Linked DNA regions of Homo sapiens: region 2 is linked to region 1. Evidence: promoter capture Hi-C in human tissues and cell types (Jung and others, 2019). All regions are on one chromosome and are shown on one strand. The core of a region is centred on a gene start or on the middle of the fragment in contact, and the rest is flanking DNA. Distances in the headings are between cores, read along the strand shown. Region 1 holds the start of TENM4 (teneurin transmembrane protein 4). Region 2 overlaps TENM4 (teneurin transmembrane protein 4).

Region 1 (7,766 bases), core at 1-2,500:
CCACGTTTATAATCTGTGATGCCTTTATAATCAGCATATGGCAACTGGCTAGACAGTCTCCTCACCACACAGAAGAGTTTTCAAAATAGCCTACCCCTCCTTTCACATTTATGTGAAATTAGCATTGTCACATTTCCTCCTTCATTGACTACTTTAGATCAGAGAGACACACTGTAGCAGAAGATCATGAAGGAAGTTGTCTTAAAGAAGGAAACTAACATAAATTAAGCATCTCATATACACCCAGTGCTTTCTTTCCATTGTTCTCTCTTTTAATCCTCACCAAAACTGGTGAAGTCGGTATCATCCATTTTATAGATGAGAAAACTGAAGCCGGGTAAGGGGAAATGGCTCGCACTAAGTCCTTTAGCCAGCAGGCAGCAGGGCTGGAGTGGGAATTCCTCCAGTCTCTTCCCCAAAGCCCTTCCAAGTTGCCACTCAGTCAAACTACCGCTCTCATCACATAAAAATGCCCTTCTCTTGGAAATGTGCTTGCCATCACGATCCAAACATTCGAGGGACAGAAATCTCTTGGACCGCAATCACTGCTATTTTTTAAGTGATTGTTATCACGACTCAGTAGCTGTTACCATGGTTTTGGGGAAGTTGTCCGAGGAAGGAGGGCCTTTCTTTGGGCATCTTGCATGCCTGAAGAAGGAACTCAAGATCTCAGCTCTTAATTACTCTGATTGTGCTGCAGTAGCAACTTGAAAGAGACCGTCCCTAGAAAAGTGTTGGGGTGGGGGGTGTGGAGTAACATCCAGCGAGCAGGCAGAAGGGAGGCCCTGGGCGCCAGAGAGACCCAGGGAAAGGCGAAGAGGAGGGAGAGGGGACGAGACCGTGCTACGGGGAGCCTGGAGAGAAAGCCAAAGGAGGAGGAAAGAACAAAAGGCAAGAGGAGAGGAAGTACAAGAAAGTCCAGAAAGGAAAAGAGAAAGTTTCAGAAAGGGGAAGAGAAAGCAAGCAAGGAGGGTAAAAGAAGAAAGAGACCAGAAAGATACCGAACTGAGAGAGCTCGGAGAACTCGAGAAAGCAAAGGAGGTAAAAGGAGAGAAGATGGAGAAGGCGGCGGAGAGGAAGGGGGAAGGAGACAGAGGAACCGAGACTGGGGTGAGGGAGCGGCCGCGCGTGGCCCCCGGAGAGGCGCCCATCACCTGCGTGGCGCCCCCCCGCGCCGGAGTGCGGCCCTGCTCCCAGCGCCAGTGCGCCGCGCGGCTCGCCGGCCTCGTAGGATTGGCTACCGCCTCCCATTCATGTAACCTGCGTGTGCGTGTGCGTGTGTGTGTGTGTCTCTCTCTCGCTCGCCCTCTCTTTCTGTGTGTAAGAGAGCGAGGGTGGGGGACGGAGGCAGGCAGGCGAGCAGGCAGGGAGGGGAAGAAGAGAAGGGAAGCTATTAAACACACACACACACACACACACTCACACACGCGCGCGCACACACCCGCCCCAACCCCCCAGAAGCCTCGGGATTGCAGCTGTTTCATGTGGGGCAGCAGTGCTGGCAGGGACGCCGGCCGGGAGCGGCCGGGAGCGGGAGCCGGTCGTGCGCGCGCGGCTGGAGGCTCGCTGGGGCTCCGCTCCCCGCGGGAGCTATTGTTGGTCTCGCTGGAGCTGAGCGCAGAGCCCGGACCTGCTCCTTCCTGGGCGCCCCGCTACGGCTCGCGGAGCAGAGGAGCCGCGCCGCCGAGAGAGAGAGGAGCCACCGGCGCGGCGCCTTGCCTCCCTGCCGCCGTCCTCGCCGCTTCCCCGGCGGTAGCAGCCTGCAGCCACGGTAAGGCGGCGTGATCCGCTCTACGGAAAAGCGCCTTGGGGACCGCGGCGACGCCTCGCCAGCTCCATCGCCCTCTGCACTGCTGGCCCGGGCAGGGTTCGGGTAGCTCACGCGGCTGCCGAGGGCTCCGGGAGATGTTTGCTTGCTCCCCTGGCCCAGGAGGAGGGAGGCTAGGGCGCGGGTGGCCGAAGAGGCAAGCTGTTCTGGAGCCTGGAGCCGCCGCAGCCCCCGGAGCCCGCCGCGGACTGGAGCCTGGGAGCAAGGGTTGGGGGAGGGCAGGGAGGTGGGAAGCGGGTGGGAGGGAGGCGGCGCGCCCCAGGTTCGTCTGCCTCTCCCGGATCCCGTTCCCCGCCCCGGCCCGGTCGCCTGCAGCCCCTCTGCAGACTAGCTCGCCCCAGGCCCCCGTCGGGCGCTGGAGGAGCCCGCGAGGCGGCGCCGGGCTTCAGCGGCTGCAGCCTGCCCTGCGGGGCAAGTGCCGGCTGCAGCAGCCCCGCACGGGCGGTGGTTGGAGCTCAGATCCTGGAGATGCGACCCCAGCTCCTCGCCCTCTGCAACCCGCGGGGCGCCCGCCTCTCCTCACCGGGCGCCCGGCCGCGGTATTGATGTTCGTCTAGGAGCCAACTGAGGCTGCAGCCGCCAGATGGACGCTTGGAGGGCTCCCGGGTGTGAGTGTGACTGTATGACTACTCTCACCCCCAGCTTCGGGAAATGTGCTCTGGGTTGAAATGTGATCACCGAGCTCCTCAGTCATTTTAATTGCCATTTTTAAATGCGGTCGTTACATTGGAGGAGCAGACTGGAAGGTAGTGGGGCGGCGTGTGTGTGTGTGTGTGTGTGTGTGTGTGGACACACACACGCAACCGAGGAATACACAACCAACTACTTGGGTGAAGGGCGGGGGGTTCACCTAGTGAGTCCTTCTTGGCGGGGGGGTCGGGCGAGTTAGCTGCCCGCTGCCCGCCCCTTCTCTGCCTGCCCCCGCCTAGGCGAGGTTGGAAAGTACTGGAAATTCAGCTGCGTGGTCCTTAACTTTGGAAATTGGCTCCGCTTTCAGGGCAAAATGTTAAGGCGATTTATGCACCCGCGTCCATGTGGATGAGTGTATTACTGCTCAGTTGGGTGCAGAGCCCTCAACAGTACCGCGCCAAGCCCCCACCCGATCTCTAACTCCCTCCCACCCCCTAACCGTGGAGAGAGGGTTTATAGAAATGCAGTTATCTGTAAACCATCGACGCAGTGAAAGGGGCGCAGGGAGGCAGCCAGAGTTTTGCCTGAACCTGCATACTGGCTTGGTGTTTGTAGCACACGAGATCACCCCGCTGCTTTGTAGAAGGCGGTGGTGGGGCAAGCTCGGGATTCCAATCGCCGGGGTGGGGGGTGGGGGGAAGAGGGTGCCCATGTACTGAGCTCTGAGGCCGAGTAAGGAGAGAGATCTGCTGAGCGGCATCGCGGGCAATTACATAAGCTGCCTCGGTGATTACCCGGAACTGTGATGCGAGCTCCCGGTTCTCGAAAGACAAGCCTGAAAGTTTGCCTGCTTGGGGAGTGTAAGTACCGGGGCGCCCCCACCCCGGCCTGGGTAGCTAGGATACGCCTCGCACCACGGCGCCCACTTGTGCGATGGGCGTCGGGTGCTGATGCTGCTGTCCCCAAAGAACCGGTTACCGAGGCAGGGACTAAGTGGGGGCATCCGGAATTGATCGCAGAGGAGGAGTCAGTCAGAACTGAGGTTTCATTGGGTCTTCAGAGCTCCAAGTCTTCCCTCGGAGGTGTTGGAAGGCCTTCCAGGGAACGCCGTTTTCAGAAACTGACTTGGTGTCCTGGGGAGCCCCAAAGCCCCTCTTTTCCGCCCTTCCTGGGCGCCCCTCCTTGTCTTTCAAGCCCTGTGCCCTTCACGTGTTTAGAAACCTGCCCGCGGTGCCTGGTCCCCCTTGGAGATGCCCAGGCAGCCCAGCCATCCAGGCCCACGCTGGCGAGGGGTTAGAGGGAGTAGAACGCTGGCTCTGCCGGGCTGCCACCCTTACCTACACCTATTCCTGGTTTCCTGCGCTAGCCCGGCGCTGATGGGGACGGGATGGGGCTGGGGTCGGGTATGGCTTCCGTTCCTTCGCCTCTCGCCTCTGCAGACAGCAGTTTGCTTCTGTTGCGTTTATTCTCCCCGTTTCGCCGCTTCCCTCCAGCGCCGCAGCCTGTGTATCACGTTGATGGGCTTTGATAGAGAAACCACAGTAAGAGTATGCTTTTAAATCTTGATTTTCGTCTGTAGGGGGATAAGCCACCCCAGCCCTGACACAGCCGTGGGGAACGCTGAAGTCTGGGACACATTGGCCCTGAACTCCCTTCCCCCCAGCCCGCAGTCAGGAGATGGTGATGTGCATGGGTGGGGAGTGTTTTGTTTTTGCCACATTCCAGCGTCCTGAAACCTCTCGTCCCCTCCCACTGAAATCCCCGATCTGTCTGAATCTGTTCCTTGCTGTAAAATAAATCCTCCCTCCCGCAGACCTGTGGGGCCCTTCGGATTTCCTGCCGCTGCCATGATCCTTAACAATGCGATTGAAAAGCCAGTGCTCGGCTGGAAAAAAATCCCCAGGTGCCAGCCGGCCGCGCCTTGACCTTGCTGAAGGAGCCTTTAACCCGGCTGCCAGAGGGGCTCTGGTCCAGCCGTGGGAATCCAGGAAGAAGGAGGGCGCCCCGGAGGCGGCTGGGTTAGCTCCCCGGGCAGGGCGGGAATCAGGTCGCGGCGGGGACCGCAGAGGGGGAGGGGACGGGACTCCGCGGCAACCTGTTTCCCGGCGAGCCGGGCCCGCGCATCCCAGCTCCCTCGCCCCAGCCCCTCGTGGCCCGCCTCCCCCGCCGGCCTCCAGTTGTCTTCGTGGTACAGGAGTCGGCCGCGACTCCCTCGCGCTCTCCGCCGGAGTCCGCGGGACGCCGCCAACTTTGGGCTCCTCGGTGGCCGGAGCAGCGGTGCGAACCAGCGGGGCGGCCGGGTGGGCGGGGCCTGGGCGGGAAACTGGAGCCGAGAAGACCGCGTTCCAGGCCAAGTTCCAGCCGCAAGCGCCGCGCGGCACAGTGCAGGGTCCCGGCCGCGCCTTTCTCCCGTCCCCGGCCCGGCCGCGTTCCTGCGGACTCACAGCGCGCTCCGGGCGCTCTGCAGTTGGGCTTTCAGCGGGGGAGCCCTTCTCGTCAAAGTTACGAGGGGTGTTTTCACTGGTGGTGACAGTGGGAACTAGTTTTCTGCGCGCCTGTGTGTGTGTGTGTGCATGTGTTGGGGAGCAGAGAGATTTGCAGCGAAGTCACACATAGCACAAAAAACAGGTTTCCCCTTTCCAGGTGTTATAAGGGAATGCTGAGGAGGAATCCGTTTTCTCCGGTGAGGGTGTTGACGGGAAGCCCTTCCACTTAGTGGAACTGGACCTGTTGGAGCTGATTGCCTGGAGTGAACGGGTGTCTCCTTTAGCGGCACCTGTGTGCCGTAGGTCCTTGGAAATGTTTGGGGAACTGAAAGTCCTCAAGATATTCAGCCAGGACTTAGGGCATAGATGTTTGTGTGCTTTTAGGGGGCTAATTCGGGGAAGCTTTTATTTCCAGCATGTGTCTTGAACTGAGGGGAGGGCAGGGTGCGGAAGGCTTGTGGAATTGCCATCTTCTGTGGTGGGGGAAGGGATCAGGGACGGAGAGCTTTGGTTTTCTAGAAAGAGTTCTTGGGTTCTTCCTCTGCTCTCATCTTGTTTTCATCAAGGCCTCTGTTTGGGGGTGGAGGTAGAGTGGTGCGGTAAGCGGATCAGCCACCCTAATAGACCGGCCTTGACCAGTGCGGATGCCAACGGGCAGAACTAGTGCTTGGTCTGAACAAGAACCATCAAAGGATAGTTCTATAGTGAGTGGAGTGACCTGGAATATGAGGTAGAAGGCTAGGTGTTAGAGTAATGGGTTCCCACGGACTCTCTTCCAATAGAATCTGATTCTATTTGGTATAGTCTCCTCAATCTTTTGTGGTTTTGTGGGAGTAAGGTGATAGGATGTGACTTTAATCTCTTAACTATTGGGTTGGAATCATGGCTCTGTGGCCTTAGGCAAATTGTCTTTGGAGCTTCAGTCCTCTCCCCTGTAAAATGGCACAATATTACTTAGTTTGCAACACTGTCAGGGTTTTTTTTTATGATCCAGTCTATAAACTTTATTCAGATTTTTCCAATTGTCCCAATAACGTCCGTTATAGCAATAGAAAATCCTGGCTTATGAGTTCATTCAGCTTTTCATGTCTCTTTAAACTCTTTTAACCTAGAACATTTCCTCATCTTTTTAAATCTTTCATATTATTGAACACTGTCAGTTTTAACATCGATAAGGCCTCTGGCATACTGTGGTCCCTTCACAGATGCTTGTTCCTTTCTACCTCCTTATCCCCTTCCAGGAAGCATCCTGCATTTGTTGGGTGGAGATTGGGCAGAGAAATCAACAGCCCCGAAAGAACCACCAACCTTGCATCCAGCCTATTTAAAACCAGCTTCAAATGCGTGAAATGAAAATTTCTTTTCTTTTCTTAGGAAAGTCATTTCCAGTTTTGTTAGAATTTGTGCTTCATTGAGTCCCTTTTTCTGACAGAGTTGCATCCTCATGCAGATTGACATGTTACATAACCCGATATTTCCAAATCAAAAGTTACAAATAAGGGAAAAGAAGGTGATTAGGAATTAAAGATTGTTGGGCAACACAAGCAAAAGACTCAATTTAAGATGCCAGCTCACACTCTAATTGTGCTAGAGGTTGAAGGAAAATGAGACTTGATAAGCACCAGTGGTGCAAGTCTCCGCCCGGGGTTCTCAGCCCCTGTCCTGGTCTAACAAACAGCTACACAGCCCCAGCCCAAACCTTTTGTAGTTCCTGTCCCAGTAACTTCTCCCACATCCATTAATCTAAAAAGTTAAACAAAAGAAGAATAGGATTTAAATCACCTCCTTGCAGATTTGATTCCAAGAGCCTAGCAGGGTAAATCAATGTCAATTCTAGATCTAAGGGGCCGATTTCTACCTGCCTTCTTACATGGTCTATCAGCTTGGCTTTTATTGTAACTGAAAGCTGAATCACTCCATCTTTGCTTTGCACTGGCAGATGGGCTGTGGGGGCCACTTTGAAAGTAATATGCCCCAGTTCTCAGGGAGCCAAGCAAACATGGATCCCTGAATGTTCTCTGTATGGAAAATGTCTAATGAAGCCATGTAGATATATGTGCCTATTGCTTCCGGGGTTATATATTTATTACTTTTTTTTTCTTTTACAGTCTTTATTCTAATGACCAAAGTAATATGTGCTCACTGTAGCAAATTCAGGCATTACAGAGAAAAGCAAAGCCAAAATGTTCCACCACATTTTGGGTTGTACCTTGTGACTTTATGAATGTAGAAAAAATGATGAGATCCTAGTATAGTGTTTTGAATGCTTATTTTCATCTAATGATAAAGCATGCAAAACTTTTCATGCTCTCTTTTCCTCCTACGGTGACATTTGTAATGCTACATAGACCCCCAATGTTATAGTATGACAGATATAATTTAATGAGTACCTAATTTTTTGACTTTGTGTTTATTTTTTTTTATTATCATAACAAGACTGTAGTAACCATCCTTGTACATACTGTGTAGTTTTAGTATTTCCTTAAGATGAATTCCTAGAAAGTAGCATTTCAGGGTTAAAGGCAGATACCATACTAAAGCTTCTGTCACACATGAAAAGCAGTTAGGTAAACCATGATGTCTCTTTCATCTTTTTAACCAGAATATGGCTATTTATTTTGCAGTCCCTTACAGGCTTGGAAGCCCAGGTGGTAGAAGAAGGCAGGGGTGACAGTCAAACTTCAAGCAGGGAATTTGCATAATTTTGAGCTGTTCTGCTGAACTGATACACAAATTCTTTTTCCAAGAACATTTTTCTTCCCTGGCTCTTGGAATCATCACTTTCTGGAGTGCTTCAGCCAGCAATGGAGTTGAAATATGTA
Region 2 (7,846 bases), core at 3,381-5,880, 190 kb after region 1:
TGGGAAATTTTTTTTTAATTCTTTAAGAAGTGGCATAACAACCCTTTGGGACACAACATTCAGATTGAGAGGCTACTAGGCTGGCCCAGACCTTGGGCCCCAGTCTGATACTTGAGGCCTAGTTCCTTAGTACACTGAACAATGCCCACCATGATTGGTCCATATGTGCCCCTCCAGCCCATCTCCTACCACCTGCATGCATCCTGTGCTCAGGCCACCTCTTCTGCCTGGAATGCTCCTGCCTTCCTTCATTCACTGCTCTGTCTCTCATATCCACAACATGCCCACTCCTGCTTATCCTTTAAATTGCAGCTCAGTGGTTGCTTTCTACAGGAAGACTTTGTCACTGATCCTGACTAGATGAGGAGCCATCTGTTATGTCTTGCTCATCTTGGTCACTCCACAGGCCCTTAGTAATTGCACAGTGACCAGATGGATGGATGAATGAGGACATGATTAGTAACGTAACTGAGTTTCCACCTCACTCTCAAGCCCTATTCCCAGAAAGCCCTATCACCCAATGAAAGCCTGAAATCTGAAAGTCTCCTGTGTGAGGCTCAGAGTCCAGGAGCCACAAATGAGACAGGACCTTTAAAAGTTAAAATCCAAGAGACAAAGTCATTGATAAACAGCAGGATTCCTAACAGGTCCAGACAAACCTGACATGGACAGTCTTAAAGATCCAGCCTCTGAACCCTTTGAACTCTGAGATGGAAACTCAAATGGTTCTCTTGTAGGTGACACCATTTTGCAGATTCTCACTGATTGCTTTGGTTTCCCACTGGTGAAATCGAGTTGTCAGATCTCCAAGCTTTGGCACTGGGCAGTCCTGGCTTGGGATTCTGGTTCTGCCAGTGCCTGGTGATGTGGCCTTAGGCAAAGCAGTTACCCTCTTTCAGCCTCTCCACTTCCCTGGAAAATGAGGACATGAAATGCTACAATACATGGCAAGTGTGGGGAACTGATAGGCACTCAAATGGAGTAACTGAGGAGGGTTGAGAGAGGAGCAGGGTTTCAGAAAGCCGGTGAGATAGCGCAGCACCCCAGGATTAGCAACACCAGGAAACTGTTACTACCCACTAGGCCTAAATAGGAAAGGGCAGGAGTAGTTACTGAGAGCTATGGCTACAGGAGAAGATGCTGGACAGCAGCCATGCCTTAGGTAGAAGAAAGAAGCCACTACTAACAACTATAGCCTAGCAGGGAAGAGTTGGGGGAATAAACAACCCAGCCTCTCTCTTTTCTGTCCTCTGAGGCTGGTGGCTCCAATAGCCTAACCCTAACCGGAAGTCAAAGGGAAAAGAATTCCATTGATATCACCCCAAAAGCTCAGCCTCCTGGGGCACAGAAAAGGGCAGCGAAGGGTAGAGAAAAGAGCTGGAGGAGCAAAGACTGTCCAGCCCAGCTCTGCTCTGACACACAGTGCTTTCTCAGGACAGGCCACTTTCTCTTACCTTATTTACATCTCTACTTCAATAGAGAAAGGGACAGAAGAGAAGATTGAACAAACCTGAGCTTTCCTTAGAGTCTTAACAAGATTGTGTTAGGGACAAAAGTTGAAATGGAAAGAAAGAATAAAGGATTTTTAATTTTGATTATCTGTGGATTTCTTTTATCCATGTTATCTCTTTCTGCCTGTAGCTGGGATAATTGAAAACTCATTGGCTTCCCTAACTTTAGCTATTCAATGTGTTGAATGCACATCAAAGGTGTTTTTGTAAGGAGCTGTATGCCGTCATTTTTAATTAATTTTAAATTCAGTTTTACATTTGATCTAATAAAGTCAAATGAATCTTTATTGTTCAGATATCACTAACTGGTGAAATAGGTCAGGCTTTCCAAGAGGAGTTCTTTGAGCTTCTTTGCATGTATAAATATCTTCTGCCAGCCGACTCTAGGCTCTAAAGGATACCTGGCTGCAGGCTTGCAGGGATCTATGTAAGACACGGAGGCGTTAGGAACATGAGAGGCCGGACTGAAAAGACTGTGTCAGCATCCCATGCATTTCACACACAGGTCCTTCTGTGCACTGGGCACCATGCTGGGTGCAGAGTGTAAAGGAGACAGAGGGGTCACCTGTACTCTGCAGCTTAGTCCCACAGGAAAATAAACTTGGACACTTGAGATGGAAAAATAGGCATCTTTATTTTTCCTCTTCAACCTCCCTAACTGTGGGGAGATTTGCACCACGCCCCCAATTCTGCGGTGAATTCCAGACCTTTCTGGTCACCCAGCGGGGCTGCTGCCCATGCCCCCACAAGCCCAGTGGGACCCTCTCACTTTGGGCTTCCCATCATCTGCAAGGCATATGACGCCCTTCCAGAACTGGGAAGACTTTTCCTTTGTCCCCTCCATGGCTCTCAAGGATGCATGGAAAAGCTTCTATTCTACCCGACCTCCACTGTCTCCTTCCACCTCCCAAGCCCCAGTTTCTTATTTTTCTGATTATTCCCAGGGAAGAACAACTCAAGCTTGTCAAATAAACCCACTGGGGTGATTGACACTATCTTTCCTTCCAGATCCTTTCCTGTACACCAGCTGCTTGTGTATGTGACTCTCCTCCACTCTCACCTCACCAGCGTGGCATTGAACACATTATATAATATTAACACAATATTATAGTCAGTTGCAGCACTTAATATAAGTGATTTTTGATGTGTGCAAGGGTAAGGAAAACAAAATGGCCTTTAATCTCATTGCCCCAGTAACTCCTGTTGACTTTAAAAAATTGGATGTGCATGATCAGAAAGTACAGAGTCCAGAAAGTCAGAAAAGAACGCGTGACTTGTCTTAGCTCCTTAGCTGCCTCTCTCCAAGGGTGGCCACAGCAAAAGAGTTTTCTGCTATTCTTCCGTAAAAGAAAGTGTAGGCTCATATTTTATTTATACCAAAGAGCCCATTTATCCTCTGTTCTTGGGTTTTCCCTTTGACAACGTACCTAGGAGGTGTTTCACTATCAGTCCTTACAAAACTAATTACTCTTGTTAACTGCTGCATATTTTTCCATTGTTGAATGTGCCATACATCGTTTACCTCAGTCTCTGCTCAAAGACACTTACGTTTTTCTAGTTTTTTGCTGTGACATATGCCTATCTTGGCATGTTTTGGGGGATGGGTGTAAGTGGAGAGTAAATTTCTAATAATAGAATAAATGAGCCAAAAAGTTTTAAATTTTGATAGGTATTGATTGCCAAATTGACCTACAAAATAGTTTCACCAGTGGACACTCCCATCGACAGCATATGAGGATGCCCCTTTCCTGTGGGTAAACACTGGAAAATTATCAAGCTTTTCCATTTTCACCAACCTGATAGGGAAAAGAATGTAATTTCACTGTTGTTTTGATCTGCATTTCTTTAACTATCAGTGTGACCAAGTGTCTTTTCATATGTTTACTAGCTGTTCGTATTTGTTCTTCTGTAAATAGAATATTCATATTCTTTGTCTATTTTTTTCTACTGGATTGGAGATAAGTTTGGTACTTTTATGAAACCAAAAGAAGTTCATCATCGATTTTATTTCAGTTTATTTTGAGATTCTGAATCAAATGGGGAGGGATGAAGGTCTAAACGTCTTCATCCTCTCTTACTTAAACAGGGAAACCTCTGTAGCCTCTTGGACGGTCTGCCCATTCCCACCCCACAGAAAACAGGGCGATTAATTATTTAGGATCCCATCGGTTCAGAGGAGAAGCTGTACCAATCAGACAGTTCCCCAGCAGCTGCTAAAGTACCAGGCACTAAGACGCGGATCAGCTGTGGGACTCTGTGTCATCCATTTAGATGAGGGCTTCCTCGACTGCCTATTGTGAGCCTCCGGAGGTCACATCCTTGACATCATCTGCTGGACCATGAAGATCATCAGCATGCCAAGGAGTCTGACAGGCTGCGATTATTTTCCACTCCAGTGCAGTGTTTGTTTGTTTCCTGGCATGAAGGGGATTTGTTTTCCCGGCAAGCTCTTTGTGCAGCAGACACCTCATAAAAGGAAAATAGCCTCTTTGGGAACATTGATGAGTTTGCTCAGGCCTTACGGTGGTCAGGCCCTGAGTGTGAGTTTGAGTGAGTGCAGTTTATGTTTTTGGCCCCAGTGGATGGGCTGTTATTCCTTTGTCTGTTCATCCATTAATCCAACAAGCATTTGCTGAGAAGCAATTTGGTACAGAAGTTAAAAGTTGGGGCTTCACAGACAGAATAAGCCTTAGTTGTTGAGTTTACTTTCGTGTGACACTGGGTAAGTTGCATTCCTTCTTGGAGCCTTTGTCTTTTCTTCACCGTAAAATGGAGGTAACAATGTCTATCTCAGAATTCTAAAATCTGTTGATATAATATATGTATTAAGCAACTGTACTGTCACAATCATGCTGCATTAACAAGCCACTTGAAAATTCAGTAGCTTAAAACAATCATTGACTCTTACTCGTCTGTCTGGGAGTGAGCTGGGGTCAGCTGATCTAAACTGGGCTCTGGGGGGTTTAACTCCAATCAGCAGGTGGATCCGGGTCTGCTCCATGAGTCTCTCATCCTCCTTGGACCCACAGGAGAGCTGGGGCACATTCTTTTCATGGCAGCAGAAGGGAGAGGTCAAGCTCCCTAGTGGGTAGGGAAATGCACTCCACCTGTAGTAGGAAGTACTGAAAAGTCCAGGGCAAAGGGCACGAGGAGAAGGGTGAAGAATTAGGAGCAATGATTCAATCTTCCACTATAGATAGTTCACAGCACCCAGTAGTTGCCCTAGTTTTCTGGCCGACAAACTAGAGAGTAGAACTGCTTCAGCCAGGCGCAGTGGCTCACGCCTGTAATCCCAGCACTTTGGGAGGCCGAGGCGGGCGGATCACGAGGTCAGGAGTTCGAGGCCAGCCTGATCAACATAGTGAAACCCCATCTCTACTTAACAAAAAAAGAAAAATTAGCCGGGTGTGGTGGTGAGCGCCTGTAATCCCAGCTACTCGGAAGGCTGAAGCAGGAGAATGGCGTGAACGCGGGAGGCAGAGCTTGCAGTGAGCCAAGATCGCGCCACTGCACTCCAGCCTGGGCGACAGAGCAAGACTCAGTCTCAAAAAAGAAAAAGAGAGAACTTCTTCGCAGCATCCTTTTCCCCAGGGATGACTGTTAAACCGTGTGCTGCTTTCAATTCACAGATTCTGTTTATTTCATAATTCCTCAGCCTTCCAAAGATTGGCCACCTTCAGAAAGCAAAAGAAAACCAACACTCCGAGAGCTTTTACAATTTTTTCTTTGCCCTTTTTATTCCATAGTTTTGTTTCCTCTCCCTCATTTTCTCCTTTTGAAATTTCCATTAGTTGTATGTTAGATCTTCTGATTTGCCCTCTTTTGTTTTGACAGATCAGTCATATTTTCCATCTAGTTCCCTGTGCTGCATTATGGGAAATTTCCTCAAGTCTATTTTTTATTTTACTAAATATCTCTTTAGCTGTACTTAATCTGCTGTTTCATTCAGCTTCTGAATTTTAATTTTAGTGATAATGTTTTTTTTTCATTTTTTCGAGTTTTATTTGCTTATTTTTCAAGCTTATATTTTCTCATAATTTTATTATTTTAACATGATTTTTATTCCTTTATCTTTTTAGTAATTTAAATACATGTATAATCTATCAGAGTATTTTAGTATGTCAAGGGTGTCAAACCTTCTTGTTGCTCTGCTGGTAGAGTGTTTTCTTGGGTGATTTCTAATTTTTTTGTAATCTCATTTTCAGGTGATGTAGTTTGTGATATTGTTTTATTTTTCCAGTGGGATTTCCCTGCATTCAAGGTGATAAAAGTGACCCTACAGAGTCTAAAGAGCTATTTCGTGCCTGATTTGAGCAAGCAACTTAGAGGTCCTACTTGTCCTAGGACAGTTTTTACATTAATTTCTTGGTTTAGGATTTTAGCAACCCACGGGTGATATAAATTTGAACTTCATGCTTGCATGTGGTGCAGGTTTGAGTTTTTATACATCATAGGCTATTTATTTTTCTGTCCAAAGCCCTGAGCAGAATGAAGCTTCTTGGTTTCCTATGCAGCTGGATGGGCAAACATCTCATACATGGAGGGAGGAAACCCTTCCAAGGTCCAGACCTTATTCAGGGTGTCAGAGCTTAGTTTCAACTCTGCCTCACATGGCCCAGAGCTACATCTTTTTTCCCCCACGTGGATGTTAAAACTCTAGCCTCTAGCTATTAAGACGTGTGCCTGTGTCTCATATACTTCTGGCCTACTATGTCTTCAGCTCTTTCACTTAAAGCTTTGGTTAAATGTTTCTTAATTGCTTTTTTTCCCAATTCATTTTGAACCACATTTCTATATAGTTTTGGTGGGAAGAGAGATCCATAAAACCAGTCTACTATGTTGCCAGAAACAGAAGTTCAACACTTATAGCTTCTTGAAGCACCACTAGTGGATCCTTTCATTTTAAACCTCTTTCAAGGATACAGCCCAAAGAAATGCATGTTTGTGAAGTAATTGTATAGCCAGACACCTATTTGATTTAAAAAGCAATTGAAAGTTTAAGCTTCGCCTAGCAAGTTGTTGTCTAAATTTGCCTTCCGTGGACATCTGTGATCATCAGAATTTCAATTATTAATTTTTAACTAGAAGCATGGGATGATTATAAATGCCATTAAGACATTGAATTGTGTCTAATGTTGGGTTAATAGAAGGCAATATTTGCTAGGATCGCTCCTTTTTTTAAGGCCTGGAAACCAGGCATCCTCCATTAGAATAGCAAAAGTTACAGCAGAACTTTTGAAATATTTTCTTAAAAAGGTGCATAGAACAGTGGGGTTGGCCTTCAGTGATTGAGAATGTGTGGCTTTCTTCCCCATTTGGGACAAATGCCTTCAGTCTAATCATTCCCAGGTGCAGGATTCAAAGTCACTAGATGTGTGTTCAAATTCTAGCTCTGCCACTTCCTACCTATGCCTGACCTGAGCCTGGCATCCTGCTTTGCCTTATATGTGGATTATCTCATTTAGCCTCACAATTGAATTTCTAGGCACTCTGTTAAAAGAAAATTAGTGCCGGCCAGGCGTGGTGGCTCACGCCTGTAATCCCAGCACTTTGGGAGACTGAGGCAGGCAGATCACTTGAGACCAGAAGTTTGAGACCAGCCTGGCCAACATGGTGAAAACCTGTCTCTACTAAAAATACAAAAAATCAGCCGGGCATGGTGGTGCTCACCTGTAATCCCAGCTACTCAAGAGGCTGAGGCAGGAGAGTTGCTTGAACAGGGGAGACAGAGGTTGAAGTGAGCTGAGATCACGCCATTGCACTCCAGCCTGGGCAACAGAGCAAGACTCCATCTAAAAAAAGAAAAGAAAATTAGTGCAGGGCACAAATAGGCAGTGTGCTGGGAATCACTGATGCACAATAAAAGTTTACGTAATAAATGAGTAATGCCGCCACTACTGCTCATAGAAATTGCCTGTTCAGCTCCTATTTGGTGCCAGTTACTGGAATAGTCACCTGACATACATCTTCTGACTTAATCTTCAAAACTTCCTGAGATTGCTCCTATTTTAAATATGGGGAAACCAGCAGAGAGTTGTTAGATAAATCCCAAGGCCACATAGCTAGGGAGTGACAGATCTGGAATTCAAATCCAAGTGTCTGGTTTTAAATGACCAGCTTATTAACATTGTGTATAGAGAAAGTAAAGGAGTTGGTGTAGTATTTCTCACATAAATACTGCGTGTGAATATTGCGATACCTTTGGGTTGCTGAGAGGCTTTTTGGCATAATTCCTGTTTCTCAGAAAAGTTTCAGATGGCTGAGTTTGGTGGGTAAATGAATTTGAAATAGAACCCAGCACTGTCCCTGACACATAGCAGAGGCCTAATAAATAT

What was found. The method cuts DNA at HindIII sites, captures the fragments that hold promoters and counts their contacts. A contact is called where the count stands out against the background at its distance.
Region 2: a contact is called between a fragment that was not itself captured here and the fragment with the promoter of TENM4 in region 1, in 1 of the 25 tissues and cell types used here (dorsolateral prefrontal cortex).

What each region holds. Positions count from the first base shown.
Region 1 is chr11:79,434,514-79,442,279 of GRCh38, reverse strand. TENM4 (teneurin transmembrane protein 4) reads left to right here and starts at 1,250. Exons shown (of 34, transcript NM_001098816.3): 1 at 1,250-1,771. RefSeq lists silencers at 1,122-1,291, 1,552-1,661. The HindIII fragment of the contact is 13,466 bases long and covers 1-6,415 here.
Region 2 is chr11:79,249,464-79,257,309 of GRCh38, reverse strand. All of the region lies in intron 2 of TENM4 (teneurin transmembrane protein 4), which reads left to right. Among named protein-coding and RNA genes, the nearest start is that of MIR708, 150 kb to the left of the region's middle. The HindIII fragment of the contact is 3,500 bases long and covers 2,881-6,380 here.